Regions from separate parts of the Homo sapiens genome. Here region 1 is linked to region 2. The links are contacts of gene promoters, found by promoter capture Hi-C in human tissues and cell types (Jung and others, 2019). All regions are on one chromosome and are shown on one strand. The core of a region is centred on a gene start or on the middle of the fragment in contact, and the rest is flanking DNA. Distances in the headings are between cores, read along the strand shown.

Evidence for each region. The method cuts DNA at HindIII sites, captures the fragments that hold promoters and counts their contacts. A contact is called where the count stands out against the background at its distance.
Region 1: a contact is called between the fragment with the promoter of TNNT3 here and a fragment that was not itself captured in region 2, in 2 of the 25 tissues and cell types used here (liver and pancreas).

What each region holds. Positions count from the first base shown.
Region 1 is chr11:1,915,822-1,922,162 of GRCh38, forward strand. It overlaps TNNT3 (troponin T3, fast skeletal type), which reads left to right and starts at 3,882. Exons shown (of 16, transcript NM_006757.4): 1 at 3,882-3,941. It also overlaps a transcript of PRR33 not described here. RefSeq lists a silencer at 600-649 and an enhancer at 1,200-1,249. The HindIII fragment of the contact is 33,765 bases long and covers 1-6,341 here.
Region 2 is chr11:1,812,041-1,818,440 of GRCh38, forward strand. No RefSeq gene overlaps it. Among named protein-coding and RNA genes, the nearest start is that of SYT8, 20 kb to the right of the region's middle. The HindIII fragment of the contact is 5,465 bases long and covers 1,565-6,400 here.

The DNA of each region.
Region 1 (6,341 bases), core at 2,632-5,131, 100 kb after region 2:
ATGGGTAGATGGATAGATGAAGAGATGGATGGATGGATGGATAGACAGGTAGATGGATGGGTAGATAGATGGATAGGTGGGTGGATGAATGGATGGATAGACTAATGATGGATGGATGGATGGATGGCGGGAGGGATAGATGAAATGGAGGGATGAGTGGATGGGTAGGTGATTGTATGGGTGGTTGAAAGGATGGACAGACGGAGGGATGGATGATGGAAGAGAAGGAGGGAGGAAGGAAGGAAAGGAAGTGGTGAAGGTGAGAGTGAATGCATGGGAATGAATAGATGGGTGGATGAATGGACAACTGTGTGAAATAGCAGACAGCCTGGGGACACCCTCCCTCCTGTCCCTCCTCTCCCAGGTCTTGCACTGGGCCCTGACACTCAGCCCTGCAGCCTTCAGCGTCTGGGAAGTCCCTTCGAGGAGCAGCACCCCAGACTCTGATGTTCTGGACTTCACTTTGCCATTCCCTTGGGTCCTCACAGCCACTATTTTCTGAAGGCTTCATGTCAAACCCTGCTTGCCTCATGAATACACACAGTTCAGAAAAGCAAAACCTCGACAGAGCCACCACCCACACAAGGGAGGTGACGTGCCCCCATCCTTTCTCAGATGCCCCAGCCACTGAGAGAGGATCCAGGCCACCCTCCCCAGCTGGGGAACCACCCAGTGACAGCACTCCCCTTGTTTCCCACCTGATCCGCTTGGGACGGTGACCAAGGGCAGCCGAGAGGCAGGCCCAAAGGCCACAGTTGGGCACTCAGCACTGGGGTGCAGAGTGGACAGCACCAGGGGCAGGGGGTAGTTGGGGTCAGCAGTGCTGAGGAGGCAGCCACTGCCCACCCCGCCCCCGACCAGCCCTGGCCCCTTGTCAGATCATCTGCACCCCTCGGCTCAGCCTCGAGAACAAGGACCCAGGGCCTGTCCCTCTGAGCTCTACCCAGCCACAGCCCTGCTGTGTTTCTGATGCAGCCTCCCGTCCACGGCCACAGCAACCCCATGCCCCTGCTCCTGGAAACCTGGAGGTCAGGCCATGCCCAATGCGGAGGTCAGGAGGCTCAAAAGGCCTGCAGCCTAAGAGGCCCCTGGCCAGGGATGGCAGATGAAGCCCCTAGCCTCTGTCCTGCCTGCCAGAGCAGCCACCAGACACCCTGTGACCCTTGCTACAAGCCCCTAGGCCAGCCACAGAGAAGACACCCATCATATCTGCAGAACGAGTCAATGAAACTGCAAAATCAGAAGCACTAGGCATGTGGGGAGGCAGCTACCTAGGGCTGGAGCAGCTCAGTTCCCAAGTGCTGTGTCAGCTGCTCCTGTCCTGGGCCTGGCAGTGATTGAGCCCACAGCTGGGCCGAGCGGCCTCAGGCTGGATCCAGCCTGGGGGCTCAGGTCAGCTCAGGGCATGAGGAGAGGCTCAGGACCCTCTTGGTCTCCACCACCCCCAACCATGCGCACTGGGTGCTGGGACCTAGATTGAGGGGCCCCGGCCACCATCTGGGGGCCACCCAGGCAGGGAGCTGCAGCCAAGACACTCAGGAGGCCATCCTCCCTCCCACAGCCTGCTCCCCACTCCCTGGGCTTGGCTCAGCATTTGCCAATTTCAGAACCCCCCCATCCCCCAACAACTGCCCTAGAGCCAAGGCCCCGTGGTCCGTCCTCAGACTCCTCCTGGGTGGAAATGCGTCCCCAACCCAGGCTGGGCCTCCCTTGTGCCCTGCCCCCACCCAGGTCTACAGTCCCCCAGGAGGCCCCTGCCCTGCCTCCTCTCCTTGGACCATCCCGGTCCGGCCAGATGGCAGCAGGGCATGGGTTACCTGGTGCAGGCCCTCGAGGCCGCTGGTGCCTGCTCTGTGCAGTCCCTGCTACGCCTCAGGCCCAGCGCCCGAGGGGGAGGTCGCCGATACCCAAAATAAAACCTGCCCTATCCCTCTGACCTCAGCTGGCTGGGCGGAGAGCGCCTGCCAAAGCTCCAGGAGCTGGGCGGGCAGCACCTTCCCCTGCTGGCCACACGGGGCCAGTGCAGGGTTATGGCACACCCACCTTCAGGTGCGCCCCTCAGGACCCCTGGCCTGGGTGAGGGCTTGGGTGGGCACAGGCTTCCTAGGCCTGCAGACTGAACCACGTGTAACCAGAATGGTGGGCTCAGGGCTCCGTTAGAGAAGCCGGCAGAGCGAGCCTGGAAAAGGAGGTTGGCCCCACCATGGGAGAGGATGGGGTGGGCCCGCTGACCCCCAGGGACCCGCTCACGTGCCTCTGAGGGAGCAGTTCTGCAGATGTCCCCAGTGGGCAGGAAGCTGGTCACAGATATCCAGGGGCCAGGGCTGTTTGTGGCCCCCAAAGCCTTGCCCATCGAGGACATGGACAGGGAGGGGAAGGCGTGGAATGCAGACGAAGCCACAGACCCAGAGCAGGAGGACGGCGACGTTCCCAGCAACCCCAGCTCCAAGAGCCTTCCCAGTGCCGGGCACTCAGCGGGAGGCAGGCAGGGGACCGGCCCTGTCCTTTGAAATGGCAGCCTGGGGCCAGCCCGCCTTGTCGTGTGACCCCAGGCACACCTTGCCTGTCCCTGGGCTCTGCGGCCTCGCTCTTCCATGGAGGGGTGGAATGAGGTGCCAACCACAGCCTTCCGGAAGGCCCCCGACCCGGCCCCAGGGCACTGTGAGCCCCTGCCGGGTTATCCTGTTGTCCCTGACTCTAAGCCTGGGGAGGACAGGGACCTCATCTGTGCCTCTCGGGACTCACCCCTGTCCTGGGCGCTGGCCAAGAAGGAACCAATCTGTGCCTGAACCGAAGAGTTCCGCAGACACCACCGCCCACGCTCAGCCTGTGGGGTCTGAGGGGAGTGAGGGGGTGGGTCAGGGTGCCAGACTGCTCTCCCCCACCTGGTGCCTCAGTTTCCCTGATCCAAGAGGCAGGGTTATCCAATCTGGTGGCCTCACTGGCCAGCATACAGGCCATCAGAGGCCAGGAAGGATGTCTGCTAGTCGGACGGTGCCACCTGGAGTCCTGAGGAAAGAAAACCAGTCTCCACACGCCACAATGAGCCTGTGGGAGATGCTGGCACAGATGGTAACGGCCACTGCGAGTGCCCAGGGTGGGGCCCCAGGGTTAGAAAGGGCCTAGAGGGAGGACCCAGACCCTTACCCAGCAAACTCCATGTGTAGCCCCCTGCAATGGCAGCAGCCCCGGGGGGAGGTATGGCAGACTCGGACTGCAGCCAGCCTGGCCATGTCCCTCGCCCGCTTATTGTGTAGGCCCCAACGGTGTCTAGCCAGGAAAGCAGAGCTGGCCTCTAAGAGGGTCTCAGATAGGGTGGGGGCCTGGCCTCAGTTCCATGGGGGGTCTCCGAGGCCTCAGGCTGCTTCCTCCCCGGGGGAGACAGCGAAGGGCCTGGGGCATTGGGCCGGGCGGCGGGAGGGGACCCCGGCTGTGCGGACCCTTTTCCTGGACAAATGTTTACTCCCACAGAACATCTCAGAGAGAAGGGGCGGGGGGGTGGGAAACCCGGCAGCCTGGCTCTGGGGACCCCCACACTAGTTTGGCCCAAAGAGAGCCTCGGCTTGGTGCCCCGGGGCCACCCAACACCTTCCTCCTCCCTCCTCAGCCCATCCAGAATGTACCCGCTGCTGGGAGTAAAAATAGCAGCTGACACCTCCTGGAGGCGGAGGGAGGACCTTGCCTCCTTCTCCAAGCACGTCCTCTGCATCCTGGCCTCCTTCAGCCTCCTCCTCTGGCCATTCCTATACTTGGTAAGGGGCCTGCACGGGCATAGCCCCCCCCAGCAAGACTCCGCACACACCCCGGCCACCCAGTCACTGGCCAATGGGCTCCTAGGAAGATCAAATGTCACTATAACACGAGGGTGTGAGCCGGGCGCCAGTGCCTGCAGCCGGTGCTGTCCACAGGGAGCTCCAGCCCTTCTCACACTCGACCCGCAGGTGGGTATAGGCAGGAGCGGCCACCCAGGACTGGGGCCGACGGGGCCTCCTGCGTGCGGGTGGACAGCCCCTCGTTCCAGGGACACTCTGGGGTCCTGGGGCGCTGAGGTCCCAGGTCCGTGTGGTGCCGAGCATCTCGAAGCATCATGGCTCGGAGCCCCCAGGTGGCTGCTCCAGCGTCCGGAGAGTCTGGGATGCGGACATGGTGGTGTGATGGTCTCAGCACCGGGAGGATGCAGAAGAAGGCAGAGTGTGGGAGGCCAGGAGGGGGCAAGTCGGGGCTCAGGGAAGCTCAGTGCTAGGGAGTGGCCTGAGGGCAGGAGGCAGAGAGGTGCGGGCTGTGAGCGGCAGGGAAGAGGCTGTGCAGGGGTGCTGCCAGGGCTTAGGTTGCCAGCTTGTGGTCGCCATGCAGACATTTGCCCAGGCCCGTCCTGGCCTTGCCATGCAGCTCTCGCACCTGGGCCTCCAACACCGCCATTTTGTAGAGATGAAAACGAGGACAGGAGGGCAGGGGCTCCTGTATGGCCAGCCCGAGTGTGTTGGGGTGGGGGCGTCTAAAGCCCACGCAGCCTTGGGGGCCAGCGTCTGGAGGTGCAGGACAGAAGTGGACAGGGGCTGGACTGGGGCAGGACGGGGCAAGAGTGAGGGGCTGGGCTTCATCGCGTCCCCCTGGCTGGAGGCTGGAGAAGCTGGCGCTCGTAAGAGCCCCCACCCACCCTCCCTGCCCTGGACACGGTCCCCCTGACTTGTGCCGTCTGATCAGGCCTTGGCTGCCCCTCCTGAAGTCCACGGAGGGACATGGGGCAAAGCAAAGGTTGGCTGGGTGGAGAACAGGTCTGGGGGCATGGTCAGGGCCACAGCAAGCAAGGGGCAGCGGCTTTTGCCTCCCCACCCTGCCCTGGCCCCGTCACCTCCCAAGGAGGGAAAGGTGATGCATACGTGCCCGAAGAAACTGACCGCATAGGTTATTTTCACGCAGCCCCTCCAAGGCAGGCACTAACTGGACACCTGCTTTGCGTCTCAGCTGTTGAAATGCCATCCCCTGCCCCCAGCACACCCCTGCCCCCAGCACACCCCTGCCACCAGCCCCTCCCCGCAACAGAGGCAATGACACAGGCCATACTGGGGGGAACAGAACAGCCTTGTGTTGCTTCCAGGCGCTCAGCAGAAAACCAGGTGCCTCAGTTTCCCCACTTGGAGAGTGGGCCTTTCCAGCGCACGTCGGGGGGCCTGGAGGTCACCCTGCCTGAGGGTGTTGGGGCACCCATGTGACTCTGGCCTGGGGGGACAGGAGGGAAATATGAGGAGCTGGGGAGGGCCTGGGTGCCCGAGGGTGAGGGGGCAGCTGTGGGCCAAGGAGGGCTGGGCTGTCACACCCGCCTCACCCACGTCTTGGGTTTCTGGGCAGAAACGTCTTGCCTATTTCTGGACACCTCAGCTGCCACTGGCTCCTTATAAATAACCCACCCCAGGCGAGGGCCACGCTGCCCCCATCTTGTGGCAGCCGACAGGTGTCTGCCCCGCCAGCGTCGGGCTGGGCACAGCAGGGCGGGGCCAGGCTCCGCTCCCTCCCTTCACTGACCCTCCTCCTCCTTACAGAGGATGGCCCTAGAGGAGTCTGTGGCGTTTGGGGCCTGAACCAGCTGGGAGGACAGCACGAGGGGCTGGTGGGCAGCCTGGGACTGGGTCACACCGGGGGCCTGGACAACACTGGCTCGTGGGGCTGAGGACTGAGGAGAGCCTGGCCCAGCCGTGGCAGTTACAAGAGGCTTAACCTGAGGGGCAGCAGAGTCTCAGGAAGAGATTCTGGGATAGGAAAAAGCTACCCCCGTTGCCTGGAAGACAGCTATCTGCTGGGTAATTTTGCATGGAGCTTAAGTTGCTCTGGGAAAATTAACATTCTTGACAGAGGGTTTGGAAAACGGTTCCCACCTCAGCAGTGCAACGTAGATGCATTTTTAGCTGATGAACGTGTGTTTTCCTTATACAACACTCCCAGGGGGGACCGTAGCTATTGTCTTCGAGTAATCTGTACTGTGTTGTAATGAACTTTGTTTTCTAAAACCCTGGCCAACATGCCGGTGCAGCTGCTCAGAGCCTCCCCAGGCCTGGCCGCCCAGTGTGCACGGTGGCCAGCTCACAGAGAGACGGTCCCCAGCATGCTGGCCTGGCGCCACCACCGCACATGGACAGGGCAGCCAGTCCTGGGCATGGAGCTTCCCCTAGACAGGGACAGATCCAGAGCATCCCCGGGACCAGGGAAAGCGGCCACAGGGAGGGAAATGGGGGGGCTGTTCTGTGGGCTCCTGCAGTCCAAGTATGCCTTGTACAGAGCCCGGCCCGGGGGGGTGCACGGGAAGCGGCCCAGACCCAACCCAACGTGCTCTGGGGCTCAGCCTC
Region 2 (6,400 bases), core at 3,047-5,546:
TCAAGCCATTCTCCTGTCTCAGCCTCCTGAGTAGCTGGGACTACAGGCAGGCGTCACCACACCCGGCTACTTTTTATATTTTTAGTAGAAACAGGTTTCACTGTGTGGGCCAGGCTGGTCTCGAACTCCTGACCTCAAGTAATCCACCCGCCTCGGCCTCTCAAAGTGCTGGGATGACAGGCGTGAGCCACTGCACCTGGCCTCCCACGAGCAATTGGAAATGTACGTCCACATTCTTCATACTCCTGTTTTTGCCAAGAGACCTGCTTTCAGCGTATTAGCCATCTTTTGTTGGGTGATCTGGCACGATCCTAAATTGTGTGAACATCGTTCTCTTGCCTTTTCTTCTGGCTACTGTTTATGAACGCCTCCCCAACTCGTCTCCATCAGTTTCTCTGGCTTTTCCAGTTTGTATACAGGACATCCTGTCAGGTGAAGTGCCTGTTCAGGTCATTTGCCCATTTTTGATCAAATGATCCCCATATCCTCACTGATTTCCAGGAGCCCTTTTTATTCTGGACACCTGTCCTTTTCAGTGATAAGTGTGGCAAATATCTTCTCCAGCTCCATAGATTATCTTCCCACTGCTTATGGAGATTTGTTTTATCAACTTTATTAAGATATGATTAAATACAATAAAATGCACAGATTTTTTTTTTTGAGATGGAGTCTTGCTCTGTCACCCAGGCTGGAGTGCAGTGGCGCGATCTTGGCTCACTGTAAGCTCTGCCTCCCAGGTTCACACCATTCTCCTGCCTCAGCCTTCTGTGTGGCTGGGATGACAGGCGCCCGCCACCACACCAGCTGATTTTTTGTATGTTCAGTAGAGATGGGGTTTGGAGTTTCTCATGCTTCTTTAGACCATGGCTGGGGCTCCTTTCGGCAGTGATCACGTCCACTTCTCATCTCCGTTCCATTCTCTCTCTAAGGCTCCACCACCTGCTAGACGCTCTCCTGCATCCCGCCTCACCCATCGCGCCTGCCGGTTCTGCCTCCCGCATGCTTTTGTCTTCCTTCCAGTTCACGAATTCTCTTTCAAGGGGCACCCACTTGCTAGCAGGTCCGTTTCCGCCACCACCGAGGTTTTTCTATTTTTTAATTCTAGAATTTCCATTTGATTCTTTTTCATAATTTCAAGTTTTATGCCAGATTTGGTTTATCTAATTTCTTGAAGATAAGACTCAGAGTTACATTAAAGAGATACATGACAATATTCCCCGTGCAATGGCTCATGTGAGACAGCCCCCCAGCCATAACAAAGCAAGGGGTCCGTTTCCCCGGGGGACACGTTCCAGGACCCCCCCAGTGGATGCTGGACACTGGGGACGGCAGACAGCCCTGAACCCTCTATATACACACCTGTGTTAAAGTTTAATTTATAAATTAGGCACAGTAAGAGATTCACAATAACCGACAGTAAAAGAGAACAATTGTAAGAGTATACTGCAACAAAGTTACGAGATGTGGCCTATGTTGCGCTCACCCTTCTTCCTGTGAGGCAAAAGGGATGGAGCCCGCAGGGCACGAGAGCTCCTCGTGCTACTCAGAACACTGCACAATTTGGAACTTACAAGGCGGGGCCTGGTGGCTCATGCCTGTAACCCCAGCACTTTGGGAGGCCAAGGCAGGTGGATCACCTGAGGTCAGGAGTTCGAGACCAGCCTGGGCAACATGATGAAACCCTATCTCTACTAAAAATACAAAAATCAGCCAGGCGTGGTGGTGGGTGCCTGTAATCCTAGCTACTCAGGAGGCTGAGGCAGGAGAATTGCTTGAACCCAGGAGGCAGAGGTTGCAGTGAGCCAAGACCGCACCACTGCACTCCAGCCCAGGCCACAGAGAAAGACATTGTCAAAAACAAAAAACAAAAAACAAACAAACAAACAAAAAAAAAAACCTTATGAATTGCATCTTTCTGGAATTTTCCATTTAATGTTTTCAGACCATACTTGGCCATCGGTAACTGAACCCACAATGAGGGGTGACTACTGTGGCACAGCTCGAACAGCGAGAATCTGTTGTCTCTCAGTCCCGGAGGCTGGAGTCTGAGATCAACCTGTGGCAGGGCTGTTTCTTCCCAGGCCGCTCTCCATGGCTTGCAGACGCTGCCTTCTCCCTGTGTGCCCTCAGAGCCGTCCCTCGGTGTGTGTTTGTCCTTACCTCTCCTTCTTGTAGGGACACAGCCACACTGAATTAGGGCTTTCCCTGGAGACCTCATTTTAACTTAATTGCCACTTTAAAGATTCCATCTCAAACAGCCTGACTAACATGGTGAAACCCCATCTCTATTAAAAATATAAAAAATTTAGCCAGGCGTGGTGGCACACACCTGTAATCTCAGCCACTTTGGGAGGCTGAGGCAGGATAATCACTTGAACCCACCCGGGAGGCATAGGTTGCAGTGAGCCGAGATTGTGCCACTGCACTTCAGCCTGGGTGACAGAGTGAGACTCTGTCTCAAAAAAAAACAAAAAGAAGATCCCATCTCGAGCTACAATCACATCGTTAGGCACCGAGAACTAGGATTGCAACATGTGAATTTTGAGAGGACACAATTTAGCCCATAACACAACTGCTCAAAGCGCATTTGGGAGGTTGCAGAAGTGAAAGGATTTCTGTGTCCCCAAACCGGGGGCCCACAGGGGCCGCCTTCTCTATGACCAGACCTCATGCAGAAAGACTTTGATTTGAAAGTGAGATCAGACCCGTCTCCTGGAGGCTGCAAGCTCCGGGGGAGTCAGGAATGGAATAGGATCTCAGGTCCTTGGGCAGCACCCGACCCCCGACGGCAGCGCCAGTGTGTCCCAAAGAGGAGCCTGCAGGGAAGAGATGCTGATGTTGAACGGGGCCAGGCCATGGTGCATGGCGAGCCTGAGTGGCACTGTGTTAGGACAAACAAGAAATCCTCCCCTTGCAGAAGGCTCTGGGCCTGGGCCTTGCCTGTGTCCCCTCCCCTGCAAGGAACCACCCTTCCTCCATGGAGGGGCAGCTTGGTGGGCCTGTCCATCAACTGGTGGCTGTGGCCATGCTCCCCGAGAAGGAAGACCGTGTCATTCCAGGGACTGCTCATGGGCTCCCGGACCAGGAAGCCTGAATGGGCTCTTTGGTTCTTTCTTCTGGTCTGACGGCTGCCCCTCCTTCCAATAAATGCCCTCTTTTCTTCCTGGCTTAAGTTCGCCAGCTTCAGTTTGTGTTATTGCAACCAGAGAGCCTTAACCATCCCCAGGGCTCTGTGATGATTCCACTGGAATTTCCCGGTGGTGGTGGGGCACTGAGGCCCTGGGGAGGCTACGGCCCTAGGAGGCTGGGCCTGGGGCATGGGCGGCCAGGAGCCTGCTGGGTGGCTGGGCGCTCTGGGCATCACGTCCAGGGCCTTCCCGGGAGAAAGGCCAGATACAGGCCCAAACACCAAGCTCTTTCCCTCCCTTCCCCAGGAGAAGGGCCCCATGGGAGCAGGGGTGTCTCCTTCCATAAACGGACAGGGGCTGGGCTCACGTGTGAGTCCCCTAGAAGGGGTGACAACTTCTGGCCTTTCTGAGAATACTCCAGGATGACAAGGTGGGGAGATGTGGAGCTGCAAGAAGTGCTAGCATGTTCCTCGGGAATGAGGAGATCTCAGAGTCATGAGGGCTTAACCCACATTGTAGTGGGCCCAGGAATGGGACTAACTTCTGGATAAACTCAGGGAGAATGCACCAGAAGACAGCAGCCCACAGAGCTGCCTTGCCACGCATTCCCGGGATGAAGGCAGCTGAGGCAGGAGCTCTAGGCTGGCTAAGAACACAGGTGTCATCCAGGACCACTTGATGTCAGCTGGGGCCACCCAAACTGCCTCAAAACCTACAAACGGTGGCTGTGTTGGCCATGCATGGGGCACCCCATGTAAGAGCAAATGGCGCAGGTGACCCACCTGTTGGAGTGGGTCTGGTTGGACAAACCAAGGGGTGTCCACGCTGGGGAGCCTCTGTGGCTGACAGTGGGTGAGAGGCTCTGGGCAAAGCTGTGGCTGGTCTCCCAGACCCGTGTCTGGGGCACTCAACATGGGGCAGACCAGATGGGGATTAACACACTGTCGTTTACTAAGAAAGGTTTTGGGGTGTGAATAAATATCTTTTAAAAGATGGAACTGTCAATCAAAGCTTGCAAAAAGAGACCGGGCGCCATGGCTCATGCCTGTAATCCCAGCACTTCGGGAGGATGAGGCGGGCAGATCACATGAGGCTAGGAGTTTGAGACCAGCCTGGGCAACATGGCGAAATCCCGTCTCTACTAAAAATACAAAAATTAGCCAGGTGAGGTGGTGGGCGCCTGCAGCCCCACCTACTCAGGAGGCTGAGGCAGGAGAACGACTTGAACCCAGGAGGCGGAGGTTGCAGTGAGCCGAGATCACACCACTGCACTCCAGCCTGGGCAATACAGCAAGACTCTGTCTCAAAAAAATAAAAATAAAGCTTGCAAAAAGGGGCAAGGGGCACCTGAAAGAGACAGCAACCAGGATGCTGAGCAACCTGCCTGTGCCCTGTAGTTTTTTCAGTCATAAAACAGTTCACATAAAACAGTTCACAGTCATAAAACGGTTCAGATAAACGTATGCACTCCAAGAAGTCAAGAAAGAAACTTAAAATCCTGTAGGTAAATTAGAAATATCAGTATGATTCCATGATATATTTACCTTTAAAAATATATATTTCCAGCTGGGCCACAGTGGCTCACTCCTGTAATCCCAGCACTTTGAGACGCCTAGGCGGGTGGATCACTTGAGGTCAGGGGTTCAAGACTAGCCTGGCCAACATGGTGAAACTCTGTCTCTACTAAAAATACAAACATTAGTTGGGCATGGTGGTGCATGCCTGTAATCCCAGCTACTCAGGAGGCTGAGGCAGGAGAATTGCTTGAACCCAGGAGGTGGAGGTTGTAGTGAGCTGGGATCATGCCACTGCACTCCAGCCTGGGTGACAGAGCAAGACTTTATCTTAAAAAAACAAAACAAAAAAAAGTTATTTCCTAAGCCAGTCAAAAAAAGAAAAAAGAAAAGACAAATACTGTATGATTCTATTTGTATGAGGTCCCTAGAGTAGTCAAATTTATAGTGACAGAAAGTAGGATGGCGAGTGCCAGGGGCTGGGGGAGGTGGAGGGGGAGTTGGATTTAATGGGAGCAGAGCTGCTGCTTTTCGAGACAAAAGGCATTCTGGAGCTGGATAGTGGGATGACAGCAGCGCGAATGTACTGAATGCCACGGAACTGTGCACTTAGAAGATGGTAAATTTTGTTACACATATTTTACCACCATACAAAAACTGGAAAAATAGGTCTTGCCTAATTCTGTCCACAGTAAAAGCTTAGAAACAATGAAAATAGACTAGTAGCAATGAGCACCCTGGCACCCAAAGTGGGACCTCTAAATACCCACCAAACTCCCTTCAAAAAGAACCGTGAACCCTTGGAGAAATGACTGGTTCTGGGCTGAGCCATGACATAGCCATGACATAAGATAAACCTGGAACTTCTCATTGCATCAGAAAGCTAAGAAACAATCAAAGACTACTGAGGTCATTTCAAGATGACATACCAGTCAACTTAAATGTATCCCCATTGACCAAATGTGGGACCACATGGTCACCAGTAAAGACAATAAGTTCAATGAATGGAAGGGCATTGTGTCAGGCACACCCTAATGCGGCCTCCAGTGAGTAATGGCCTTATTTAATCCCCTGCCCTGAGGCAGGGCAGAATCTGTGATTTTTCTTTGACTGAGAGATTAAAGCAAAAGTGAAGAGACTTTGCAGATATAATTAAGTTCCTAACCAGTTGACTTTGAGTTAATCAAAAGGAGATTTTTCTCAGTGGTCCTGACTTAACAGGCAAGCCCTTTGTAAGAGAGTCTAGGGCTTCTCTGAAGTTAGAGACTCGAAGGGGCAGAGACCCTCTCTCTCTGTTGCTGGCTTTGAAGGAGGAAGCTGCCATGAATTCTGCAACTTCATGGAAATAAGTTCTGCCAAAACCTAAATGAGCCTGGAAGCTGCTCCCTCCCTAGTTGGGTCTCCAGATGAGAACACAGCCTGGCTGACAGCTTGATCTCAAGCTAGTGAGACCCTGAGTGAGGAATCTGGCTAAGCTATACCAGGACATCTGGCATACAGAAGTGCATATACTAAATGGGAGCTTTATGTTTGTGGCAATTTGTTCCACAGCCATTGAGAATTACTGCACACATTCAATACAGTACATTTAAGTAATATACTTCAATTTATGATTTCACAATAATATATATTTAAAATAATCAATATTTTTCTCTGCCTTCCCTGTACCAAATATTTGATGTGGGAAAGTGTATCTTTAGAAGAACTCTTGCAAATAAATGCTGAAGAAATACCAAGTTTAGAAAATTGCAATTTTGC